Linked DNA regions of Homo sapiens: region 1 is linked to region 2. The links are contacts of gene promoters, found by promoter capture Hi-C in human tissues and cell types (Jung and others, 2019). All regions are on one chromosome and are shown on one strand. Each heading gives the region's core, a stretch centred on a gene start or on the middle of the fragment in contact. The rest is flanking DNA. Distances are from core to core; before and after follow the strand shown.

The links. Contacts are between HindIII fragments. The study calls those that stand out against the background at their distance.
Region 1: a fragment that was not itself captured here is called in contact with the fragment with the promoter of HNRNPLL in region 2 in 1 of the 25 tissues and cell types used here (heart right ventricle).

The regions. Positions count from the first base shown.
Region 1 is chr2:38,053,857-38,060,402 of GRCh38, forward strand. It overlaps a transcript of RMDN2 not described here. Among named protein-coding and RNA genes, the nearest start is that of CYP1B1, 19 kb to the right of the region's middle. The HindIII fragment of the contact is 3,461 bases long and covers 1,232-4,692 here.
Region 2 is chr2:38,599,904-38,606,666 of GRCh38, forward strand. HNRNPLL (heterogeneous nuclear ribonucleoprotein L like) reads right to left here and starts at 3,025. Exons shown (of 13, transcript NM_138394.4): 1 at 2,535-3,025. The coding sequence starts at 2,723. RefSeq lists silencers at 2,745-2,844, 2,865-2,914, 3,135-3,204. The HindIII fragment of the contact is 14,663 bases long and covers 1-6,763 here.

The sequences.
Region 1 (6,546 bases), core at 1,712-4,211, 550 kb before region 2:
TTTCAAAGTTCCAGGTGACTCTAATGTGCAGCCAGCACTGAAAACCTCTCATTTTAAATAGTTATTTTGATAGACAGAGAGTTAGAGGAAGTAAACCTACCAAGAACGACTCATTGGTTGAATTTATTATTCAGATATTCTAGGAGTTTTATTGATTAATTTCCAGTTGACCACTTATCAGATTACTGTACTCACCTCATTCCTATGAACTATACTAGTAGATGCCCCACACTCTGAACACTAATGGCCAGTGGGCTAATCTTGACTTTGCCTGTGCACTTCTGCTTCCTCAAGTTGAATTCTGTTTATCTAGAATCATTTGGGTTTGTTTTATGCGTATTATTCCCAAAATTACATAATTTAATTTATTAAATAGTATTAAACTCATCAAGTAATACTGTGAAAATAAAGAGCTGCTGTACTGATGAACACAAAAAAGATGAATGCTTTGGAAAGACTCAGTAAAGTTGACATGCTAAAAGTATTTTACTGTTAGATTAGGCAACTATAAAACATTGGAGAAAATATTAGAACAATCTTAAAAATTCTACATTCAAACTGATCTGCAAGTATTTTTTAAATTTTTGCTCCACTTTAAATACACAGAAACTACACATCATAGGTGATGCATTATGGATATAGTTCACTTAAAAAATATACCCCAAATTCCAAAATGGAGATGCATGGTTAAAGAAAAGACTAGAGTCTTACATCACAAGATTAATAAATGAATGCATTTTCCTCCATGTTTATTGTCCCCTCCCGTGTGCTTTGTTGCTCCAGGGTTCAATTCTCTGTTTCTTTTGGGTCACTCTGTGGCTTGCAGCATGACCACCTACCCATTTATGAATTCTCTTCTCTCTTCTCTACCATCTTTCTTAAGGAACATTTCTGCCATGATTTGCCAGCCAGCTCCATGCAGTCAAACTACCCAGTGCACGACTCTGGACACCTCACTACTGGACCATCCCTCTTCAAGCCCACACTTAATATAGAATACAGCACAGGACATGCTCCATAGTAAGGGCTCTGCTCTCTCAAAAGGACGGGGGGACAAAGGGCTCCAAGTGTCCCACCAGGAAATTATTTGGATATCATGTTATATTTGTAAAACTAATAAAACACATTCAGAAAGTTACCAGAAATGTCTTATGTACCATAAACCATATTTTTAGAACAGTATATTATCAGTTTTGTATTGCAAGCATTGCTTATTATATCTCTGAGATGTCTTTCAAATCCCACTCCTTCTCTATTTCCTCAGTGAGGCCAGGACCAGGTCTACTTTCCCTCTTGCCTAGATGATTTCATAGCCGTCCCCGCTTGATGATCCGCCTAGTTTCACTCCTTCCCTCTAAGCCATTGTCACATCTTGCAGTCAAAGTTGCCGTTCTAAAGCACTTGCCTGTTTTAATTCCTCCTGTGCAACCCACCCCAGGATCCTATGGGAAAAAAAAACAGACTCCTCAACCCAGCATGTAGCCTTTGCAGCCTGCCTCAACCTACCTCCCCAACCTCACCCTCACCCTATATACATAGCTGACCCATCTGTTAAAATGTCTTTGGCTCTTAGAACCAGAAATAGAAAATCCTTACTCAACTGTGTCCTATAAAGTAGGAAATTAGTTGTCTCACTTTGGAGGAAAATCAGAAGCGTAGGAAGCTCTAAGTTGGTTTACTTAATGGCTTGATGACCCCATCAAGGACAAGATCTTTGCATCTTTTCATACAGTCATTTTTGAAGTATCAGCTTGGTCCTCAGGTTAGCTCCCTTCATGACTACAAGATCACTGCAGGAGTCACATCCAGACACAATAGCATTCGACAGAGGAGGATGCACTGTCTCTTACTTGTGTGTGTGTCTTTTAAAGAACAAAGAAACCCTTCAAGCAGCCCTTCAATAGACCTTCCCCTTGCAACTCATCAGCTGGAATAGATTGCATGCCCCTGTCTATACCAATTACTGCAAGGGGAATAGGAATTTTATGATTGATTTAGGCTAGTCAGGATTTACTGTGAGTTGAGACAGAGTCATCTTCCCTGAAGACTGGATAACTGGAAAAAAATCAAGGTTCTGTTAACAAGTAGGGTGATGGATATTGGGTAGACATTAACAGTACCTGCCACACTCCCTCACCCTGACACACACACAAATACACACACACACTGCATGCAAACACATACGTGTGCTCCCCACCTCACCTGGATCATTGCCACCTCCAAGCACATCACATTCATTCAAACAGATATTTTATTACTGAGCACATAGGACGGGGCAGCACTGTGCCAGGCACCCGGGATCCAGTGGGGAGCAGGTCCTTTCATCACGGAGGGCGTTGTCCAGGATCCTCTCATCCTCCCTCCCTGATATTGTGTCTCTCTAGTCAACCCCTAAGCATCTAGGCCCAGCTCATAGGGCATCTCCTCTATGGAGCCTTTCCTAACCCTCATGTCCACACAGTCTCTAGGAGAATTACGTAGTTCTTAATCGTTGTTCCCAAAGCACTTCATACACCACTTACTACAACATCAATCACACTGTGTTGGGGCATGCCGGTGTGTCTCCTCAAACAGGAAATGAACACCTCTGCATCAGGGCATGTGTTTATTTTTATAACAGTTTTATCTTAGAATAGTATCTACTAGTGCTTAACAATGCTTAGAGACATAATAGATGCTGAATAAATGATGGCCTGGATGATCTGAATGTATATAAAACTATATTACACTTGATTTACTGTGCTCAGCATGTAAGAACATATAATAATTCTCCCAAACTTATTTCAGGGTGTCCCATGTGACTAGATAAGAGAATGAATTTTGTTTGATTAGGTGCATTCTTAGGCTATGTGTAAGAATTGTGAAATTATGACATACCCCTAAATGATATAAAATGATGGAGACCCAATTAGGAAGAAGAACTTAATTAAGCAAGGGTTTTAAGTCCTGAAATTATAAGCTTTTTTCAGTTTTGTTTTAGTTATGTTATTACACTGTGTGGGTCTGATTTTTTCCTTCCATTTAACTGCTGCATTCTCTAGTCTATGCTAAAATGCCTCCACTTGCAATATGGAATATTGCCTTTGTGAAAAATGCCTTTGACCTGTTTCTGCTTCCTAGTGCCTTATTTGGGGTCTTAGCTTTGTGGGTTCATGACTCTCTGTGAAGCAGCATCAACTGTCCAGGGCTCTAGCACAGTCCAGGGCCATTCAAAACAGAGGTGGAAATGATGTACATAGAAGTGATTTGTCAACCATAAAGTGCTTTAGAAACATGAAGAGGTTGTTACTATTACTAGTTGGTGCTGTGAGAAATAGATGGTGCAGACCAGGATTGGCAAACTTTTCCTGTAAGAGCCAGGTAGTAAATATTTCAGGCTTTGCAGGTGCCTTGTGGTCTTTGTTACAACTACCCAACTCTGCTGCTGTAGTACAAAAGCTGCCATAGGCATTACAGTCAAATGAGCATGGCTGTGCTCCAACATAACTTTATTTATGGATACTGAAATTTGAATTTCATAAAATGTTCATGTGTCATAAAATACTTTTCCTCTTTTGATTTCTTTCTACTATTTAAAAGTGTAAAAATAATGCATAGCTCACAAGCTATGGAAAATGGGTGGTGGACCAGATTTGGACCATGGGCCATAGTTTGCTGACCTCTGCTGTAAACCACAGGAGATTCATCTTACCAAGATGCTGGTAGCCAATGGAGCCTGATATAGAAACCACTTTATTTGATATGGTTTAGATCTATGTCCCCACTCAAATCTCATATTCAATAGTAATCCCCAGTGTTGGTGGTGGGGCATGGTAGGAGGTGATTGGATCAATGGGCAGAGTTCTCATGAATGGTTCAGTACCATCCCCCTTGGTACTGTATAGTGAGTGGATTCTCATGAGATCTGGTTGTTTAAAAGTATGTAGCACCTTCCCCCTCCCTCTTCCTTCTGATCCAGCCATGTAAGAAGTGCCTGTTTCCCCTTTGCCTTCTGCCACGATTGTCAGTTTCCTGAGGCCTCCCCAGAAGCAGAAGCTGCTGCTATACTTTCTGTACAGCCTGCAGAACCGTGAACCAATTAAACCTCTTTGCTTTATAAATTACCCAGTCTCAGGTATTTCTTCATAGGACTGTGAGAATAGACTAATACAGAGCCCATTGAGGCTATCTGAACAGTAGCAGAGTAACTACCCAGGAAAATGTCCGACTCATAATAGCAGCATTAGAAAGCCACCTTAACTCTTGGAAATTTAACCTTTTTTCTTTGGAAATAATTGTGCTCCTCACATGCCTTGTTCTTTTGACCTGAGTTTATTTTCTACTGGAGATGTTGACTTCTCTGCCTTTGGGAAAAACCCAGGTCAGTGTGAGTCAGCCCTGTGGGCTAGGGAAGGGGGTGAAGGAGCCCAGGGTGGAAAAATCTCAGGTATCTGAAAAATAGCATTCAATCTCTCATCATCCATTGACATAGCTCTTTAGGTCAAGCCTTCAAGCTTTGCCCTGCAGGAAGAAGCAGCATGAGGGGAAGACCCTCTTTGAACTTTAATTCCCAGCCTTGGAAGGGAAGGCTTGGAGAAGCAACGCCCCAGATTCTGTTAGCCCTCATCAGCTTTTCTCAGCTCTGCTCAGGCAGGGGACTTCAGGACCAGAAATTGTGTCTGCAGGTGTGGGGGCTGCTTGTCCCAAGGCAAAGGTGAAGGAGAAGCAAGAGCAGAACCCATAGAACATAAGGAACCATAGCTTTGAATTTCCTTGTTTGGAGTTAACTTTTCCACCAAAATATAACCTTATGTGGATCGTCTTCCTTACTTTTATCAAGGTGTTCGTTTTCTGTGTTTCAGAACTGAGGTTATGGGCAGTTTTCTGTTTCAGACCTACCTACTCTAAGAAGCTTTCTTTTATTTCCTATTGCGACCTGAGTTTATTTTCCACTGGAGATGTTGGCTCCTCTGCCTATGGGAAAAAGCCAGGTCATTGGAAAACGCAAATCTCTCCTTTCCTTGAAGCACATTATCTGAAACTACCTGAAAACTCTTGTGTATGTATCTTTATATTATATTTATGTTCACACTCACTTACTCGGAGGAGGGGCCCCTGAATCCTCCCTGAGTATTTCTCATGATTCTTATCATAGTGTTTTACCCAAAGTAGTAATAAATAGTTACCAATTGAATAAAAGTAAAACGTCCAATAAATTGAAATGGGTTCAATTATAGAAGCACTGTCCAATAGAACTTTCCGCTATGATGGAAGCGTTTTATATCTGTGCCTCTCACAACAGTAGCCACTATCCCCATGTGGCTTCCAAGCACCTGAAATAAGGCTGATGTGAATAAGGAATTGATTTTTTAATTTTTTTAATTTTAATTAATTTAAATTTAAATAGCCACATGTGACTAGTGGCTACTACATTGTACAGCACAGGTCAGTAGGACAATAAACAGCTGGCTTAACTAATTTCTTTTTGTGAGTAGATTATTTGGGCAGTGATCATACCATCAGAATTTAAAATATAATGCAAACCAGTGGTTGGATATTGTGTAGAAAATCCAGCAAGATGATTGGATATTCCACTTTCCAAGGAACATAAAAATGTCCACCCCTGTAGAGTTTATATCCTGGGAACTGGAGTGGGGACGGAGACAGACAGTAAATCATCATCAAAATGTAAAGGTTATTTTATGTTATATTAACAGGAAATAAATGTTTTATGTGTTGGGAGCGTAGGGAACAGAAAAAGTAGAGCAAGGTAGGCATGTCGAGGGAGCTTGTGGGGGCAGGCTAAGTATTAAATAATGTGGTCAGAGGAGGCTTCATTAGAGAGATGAGAGATGAACTCAAGCTAGACTGATGTAGGGACGTGGGCAAAGAAAATGAGAAAGGTGCTGACCTCTGCAGAGCCAAGGGCAGGTCTGTATGATGACCTAAACTCCCCTACACTCTGTTGCAAAGAAAATAAGCCCTGGCGGGGCACTGAAGAAGAAGGACAGGGTTTTGTGTGTGTGTGGTTTTTTGTTGTCGTTGGTTTTTTTTGTTTTTGTTTTTGTTTTTTTGTTTTTGAGACGGAGTCTCGCTCTGTCACCCAGGCTGGAGTGCAGTGACTCGATCTCGGCTCACTGCAACCTCCGCCTCTCAGGTTCAAATGATTTTCCTGCCTCAGCCTCCCGAGTAGCTGGGACTACAGGTGTGTGCCACGACGCCCAGCTATTTTATTTTATTTTATTTTATTTTATTTTATTTTATTTTATTTTATTTTATTTTATTTTTTTTAGTAGAGACAGGATTTCACTGTGTTACGCAGGATGGTCTCGATCTCCTGACCTCATGATCCGCCAGCCTTGGCCTCCCAAAGTGCTGGGATTACAGGCATGAGCCACCACACCCGACCATTTTGTTTTTTATTAACAAGGCCTTGATAGACGTTTCCAGAGCTATCTCTTGAAGTTAGAAATCAAAACAAGAGAGCAGGCAGGCTTGCCCATTTTTACAGCAATCATTCCTGGAAACCACATTGGAAAACACACAGTGAAAAGTTAACCTTATTCT
Region 2 (6,763 bases), core at 1,775-4,274:
TTACTTTAACAGTCTGACCACAAAGGTATTTCTTCTCTGGGCTGAAGGACCACTGAAGTTGTGCAAAACCCTTTTCGGTTACAATGAATTACCAAACATGTGAACGAAGAAGCACAAGACAGTAAACTTCTATCCGGGGAACGTCTATCCTAATAATAGAATTTTATTATGTACAGGTTTCCATAGTTGCCATGATTTCAAAATAGTACCAAAAATTACATGAAAAATATTTAAAAACAAGATAAACAAGGCTTCATTAGATTTCATAGTACAATGATGGTTTTACTGTTAAATGAAAACAATTCACCCTTTCCTAGGAAACATATCAGCAGTAAGATAAACAAAAAAATTAAAATTTATACCTCAATCTGCTTATATCAGTTCCCGCCGGGGTAACTTAAAAGCAGCATTAGCATTACGTTAATCACTTAACTATAGCTTCGGTTAAAAAAGGCATGTGTTTCAACCTTCATATTTTACAGACTAAGAGAACTCAGAGTAGTAAACTGACTTTCTCAGACTCACACAAATTGTATGCTAAGACCAGGTGCGGTGGCTCACGGCTGTAATCCCAGCACTTTGGGAGGCCAACTCAGGTGGATCTCTTGAGCCCAGGAGTTAAGAGACTAGCTTTGGCAATATGGTGAAACCCCTTCTCTACAAAACACAGAAAAAAAAAATTGGCCCGGCGTGGTGATGCAGGCTTCCAGTCCCAGCAACCCGGGAGGCTGAGGTAGGAGGATCGCTTGAGACAGGGAGATCAAGGCTGCAGTGAGCCGTGATCACGAGCTGCTGCACTCCAGAGCTGCTGCACTCCAGCCCCGGGCCATAGAGTGAGATCCTCTCAAAAAAAAAAAAAAATTGTATGCTAAGCCTAGACTCTTGACCACCCCCAAGCCCTACTCAGTGCCATTTCCACCGCTCCACACATTTCGCTTTGGATACATTAATTATATGTTATTTTCTTCCCAACATCCAAAATAATACTATTGATTTAATGCTTTATCTGTTTTCAAAAACAAATTTTTATAATCTGATTTAAGTATCTTTCCAAAATGCCTGAAGACATTTCATGATGCTGCACAAAAACCCAAGCAAGATTTCTAGCAACGAGGTACACTGATCGAATACATCGAAATATCAGTTATAATATTCCTGTTTCCAATTTCCACAACAGAGTTGGCTTTGAACTGAAACTTCCTAAGAAAAAACCATTTCCTTTATTCACACTTCCAAGTTACATTTTGAATATTTCAAATAGCTCGGCACAAAAATCTAAAGTAATAGCTAACACCGTAACAAGACTGAGAGAAAAAGTTCCTTTTTTAAATGTGTTGCAAAGTTTGCTCTCACATCCTGGTAACTGGAAACTGCAACGCTGGGTGACTGACCAGCCTTTTTTTTTATTATTTAAAAATTCAAACGGCTATAAAGGGCTTCTAATGTGCGTCTTATTTTTAAAAGGTAAGGTAAAAACCCTTTTAACCTAATAGTAGGATATATGTGTACAGTTTCGTAATTCTGTTAAAGTTTGCAGAATTAATCACAATTCATGTGTTAAATGTTTAAATAACATCTAAGTCATTAAAACCGCTTAAGTGCACCAAAAAAGGGCAATAACGTTTGCTCCGCTTTGTTTCCTTAAAGTCTCCATCCAACTGAAGCTAACTACTTGCTGTGGACAAAATGATCACATTCCTTCTGCCTCCCCCTAACATTTCTGGTAAGAGAAAGACCTGGCTCTAGGAATGTGTGTTTAATGCAACCCTGAGCTCACTTCATCCTTTCATGGGGCAAATGTGGAATAAATTACCAATGAAAAACTTTAGTAATTTTAAGATTTGTTTTACTTGAAGGTAGGGGTGTACCAACAGCTGCCAACACTTCTGTTGAAGTGTTGTAACCGAAGAGGTAAAAAGTGTACTGAGTAATCCACAAAATTGGGTAGAGCAAAGGATGCACGCCATGCTTATAAAGAGTTTAATTTTAAAATTTTTTAAATTAAACCTTCAAGGGAACTAGCATGTGAACGCCAAGGCATAATCTGTTATTTAATTACGGGTCTCCATAGGACCGAGGCGGAGAGAGCTCCCGGTAGAACCGACGCAACCATCCCGGGATGGTGACCAACGCGCGGCTGCTGCGGGCAGAGGGACTGAAGAGAACCGGTGGTCCCGACGCTGGCCCCGAGCCCGAGGAGTTAAACTAACAAAGAGCTCCCCGAGCCGCGAAACCCCCCAGAGCGGAAGCGACGCCTCCCCGCCGCCGCCGCCGCGCCGCGACCCTCCCCAAGTTCAGGGCCCGGCAGTGGACTCGCTGCGGGGCCTGCGGCCAGGACGGCGCCGGGTTCGCAGTCGGGATGCGGGAAACAGGTAGAGGCCAGAATACGAGCCCCAAAGAGAAGAGTGGGCGCTTCCCCAAACGGGTCGGCGCAGCGGAAAAGGCTAACTGAAGCAAGCGGGAGGCCCCGCACCGAGGCCCTGCTTCCCGGGGAGCAGCCAGGCACAGCGGACAGGGGGGCCGCGCTTTGTTACCGGCTGAGAGAAGCTCCGGCCGCCGCCGCCGCCATCGCCCCCGCCCCGGGGCGTCGCTTCCCGGCGGTTCTCGCCTTCCTCGGCCGAGTAGTCGATCTCCCCCTCCTCGGTCTTGAGACGCTTGGCCTGGCTCTCGTACTCCCGGTCCTCCTCGTACGTCTCCCTGGGGGAGGAAGAGGAGGAGGACATGGCGGCGGCCGGAGGGACCGGCTGGCAGGCGGGTGGGGGTGGCGGTGGGGCGCGCGCCTCGGATGCCGCCGGCCAGTCCTCGCCGCCGGCAGCGCCTCTTCTGCGAGGGTCTCCGCGGCCCGGCCGTCCGCGGGGACTGCGCGGCCAGGAGACTGGCGGCTGAGAAGCGCGGACGGACTGAGGGGGGCGCCCCGGGAGGAAGCTCTGGAGCGGCCGCTCCTCTCAATTACCGAGCCAACATTCAGCCTCTCCCTCCTCCTCCTCCGTCTCCGCTCCCTGCCCGGAGGAGCGAATCTAAGGATGGGGACGCAACCGTGGCTTCCGGTCTTCCCTCCTCCCCTAAGCCGCTCCCAGCCGCGCAGGCCGAGCCTCCGCCCCCGCCTTCGCGGCCGTCGCGCAGGATCGAATCCAGCCGCAGCCTGCGGGAAGCGCCCCCCCCGGCCCGGGTTCTGCTCCCTATTGGCAGGGGCGGGAAAGTCGACCGGGCTTCCCATTGGCTGTGAGGGCCGTTCGTCAAAAGCCGCCCGCTGCTCGACCTCACTTCTCTCCCCGCGCCTTCTGAACTCGCCGCGGTCCTGGGAGGCCCGGCGCGCAAGGCGCGCCGCCTGGGAGTAGTTGCGACCCGCAACCGTTGGCGCTATGCGGCTCCTACCCGAGGCCAGGCGTGGAGTGAACACGGACGAGCGACGAGAAGTGCGGAGAGGCTAGGGCTGCGGGTGTTAACCGCCCTGCCGCTAATTTAAATGCTTTTTATCACCTCTTAAAAAGAGAATGAGGAAAAAAACCTCTAAAATCCCTGCAGTCATACCCCCCGAAAAGCCCTAAAATTGCAGGCGATGAAGGGAGAAAACGGCTTGGAGCCATGAGAATGGTCTTTCCACTGTTTTGTGTGCAAAATCTGGTAGAAGTGGGCGGACCCTCCCGCCCCTAGCTGGGTGTTGGAGAACAGCTGTCAGCATTGACTGAAGGCTGCGAGGCGCGCGTCGGCAGGAGGCGCTGCACGCGGGCGCTCGTCGGTCTGATCGGTTATAACTCGTTTGTAACCTGGGCCCTTTACTGACTTGCCTGTCCCTGTAAGTCCCTGCTCCAGTTAAATATGTTTTAATCCTTCCATATAAAATCTCATCCTCCATCCCAATTCTTTCTCTTCTGGACAATGTATTTACTTCACTTGATCATTTATTGTCGAAAGATACAAAAGCCTTTCAAAGTTCTGTGATCACAGCTTGCTTCCTCTGTGGTGTCCTGAGGGCTTTTCCAAGATTTTAGTTGCTGCTCTCTTTTTGCAACAGGGCCCCTTATAACTCCCTCTTAAGATGTTCTGTTTTAAAAACTCTGTGAGCGCCTGAAGACAGGAACTGTGTGCAATTTTCATTTTCGCAAGCCCAGTTCCTGTGCGATCTCCAGCACAATTTAGGTGCTCAACAATGCTGAATGAGTAGTCCTTGGGAAATAAAGGTCCAGTGTATCTTTCAGGACAGAAACTGGCAAATCAAGGCAACCTAACTGCCCTCTGTCAGGTGCCTCTTGGAGGACTGCCTGAGATCAAGAGCCTCTTGTGTTTCTGTTGTCCTTGTCCCTCGGATGCTTTCCTAGATGTGGCTCTTCCTTTCCTAAGAGTGTAGATTGCTTCCTCCTCCAGCCTAGTTCTCTCCAAAGTTATTTCCTCCTCCAAAAAAGCTATTTTTATTTATTGCTGAGAGTGCTTTAACATAACACTTTTGTACTTTGTAAATTACACCGGCTGTCATTTTGGAATCTAATTGCAAGATTTTCCACACTATGCAGCTATAATCAAATGTGTGTGCGGCTGCAGGTATACATTGACAAAACAGAACTAAAAAAATTATAAATTTATTTTTTAAATTAAAATGGAAGTCGACAGAAGAAATAGCAAAAGAGTGGCAGAGCTGGCTGCGGATGAGAAAATGTCATTGGCAAAAAGCTCTGCAATGGTTTGGGAAAGTAAAATAGCAACAAGGGAAACAATGATACAATTCTGCTTAAAATATGTCCTATGGATTCATATGTCCCCTAACATATTCAGAATGCAGACATTACCTGGCCTTCAGAAAGCTGAAGATACCAAGGGTCAAAAAAAAGGTCTAACAAACCTACTTCACGTGTTATCTTTAGCATCCATTGTCCTTTTTATAGCAGTCTCAGTATCAAAGATCAGGAAAGGATGAGTGAATTAATAAACTTGATACAAAGGAAACTTCTTTGATGAGGTGAGATGGGCCATTCTCAAGATATTTTTAGTTTGCTCAAATTAAAAGAGAAGAGCTGAGAGCTTAAAACAATTATTTTTTAGGAGAAAGAAAACAATAGAATATTATGTGAAATAATTGAGTGTGATGAGAAGCACTAAATATCTTTTTGTTAAGTATGAGCAACTACCTGTTAATTTTGTTTTATGTACATTTTCATATGCTAGGTGAATTTAGTTTGGTAAATTCTATTCACTCACAACTGGATTTACTAGGCCTTATACAAACTTTCCAAATATTTCTTGTGAAGATGCAAATATTTTAAATTCTCAAAGCCCTGCATTCAACCTATGGATTATACCACATTACAATGCAACTGTCACACCAATGGGTAAGGAAATCCAGCCTTGCCAAACCTAGGGCTGCTGTGCTCAGCGTTCACAAACAGCAGGTGGAATTCAATATGTACCAGTATTAAACTTTGTTCTTTTTGTAAGTAGCCCAGTTGAGTAAAAAAAAAAATATTGAGGGAGTAAAACTTAGAAAGCATTTTTAAAGGACACCAATCAGTTCGTTAACCATGGGTGAAATGCGAGCTTGTTGCAGATGAGTTGTTCAGACAGTGACAGTAGGTCCTTTGATAAGGAAAATACTAGCTAGCTCATCACCAGGGCATGAGGAGCTAAAGAGAGAGGACATAAATTATACTCTACATTATTTCACTTAGGTGAGACAAAGAAATTACACACTGCCCAGTAGCCAGAAATACCTAAGAAAAGCAGAAACAGCTCCTAAATGCCATGACTGTCTGGAACCTCTCATGCATTACGGCCTCAGACCTTTGACTATTTTCTGAACATTTGATTGAATTCGCTGCTGTCAAGTAGGCAGCAGCCAAGAGCTCCCATTGCCACAGCTCAAAGGGGACTCCAGCTATACTGGAGTAGGAGACAGGCTTAGGGCAGGCCTAGGGAAATTGAGAGTCAAGGGCCTTTATAATCAATCCAGCCTCAAATTGCCCTTTAGTTTTAAATCTCGTTACTGATCTATAAAATTTATAAGACATTGTGCTAGGTGATGAGAGGACTACGTGAGCTGGTCCCTGCCCTCTCAAAGCTTGCAATCAAGTTGTGGAAACAAGGCTCATACCCAAGAGATAGGCTACAAGCATCCATATGTAATAATACATATACAATAATTAATAGCCACATTTAATGTGCCAGTCACTGTGCTAACCACTGAAAGGGTTTTGTCAATAAATTCTGACAGAAGCCTTCTACCAGAGGCATTATTATTACTCTTCCCAGTATACAATTAAAGAAACAGTCTAGGGGAGATTAAGAAACCTGCCTTAGGCTGGGCACAGAGGGAGGCAGAGGCACACAGATCACTTGAGCCCAGGAGTTTGAGACCAGCCTAGGCAACGTGGCAAGACCCTGTTTCCACAAAAATTGTAAAAATTAGCCTGGAATGGTGGTGCGTGCCTGTAATCCCAGCCACTCAGGAGGATGAGGTGGGAGGATTGCCTGAGCCCAGGGAGGTCCAGGCTACAGTGAGCCGTGACTGCACCACTACACTCTAGCCTGGGTGTTGGAGTGAAACCCTGTTTCAAAAAAAAGAAAAGAAAAAAAAGGAAACCTGCCCTAGAGCTGCAGTTAATAAATTGAAAAGCCAGGACTGGAACCCAAGCAATCGGGTTCCAGAGCCAGTACTCGTCATCAGAAGACTGATGATTTAATTATTGTGTTATTTATTACCATGGACATACAGATCTAATTTATAGTCACTTATTATATAATGATGCTAATTCATTCACTGATTTCTCCTTTT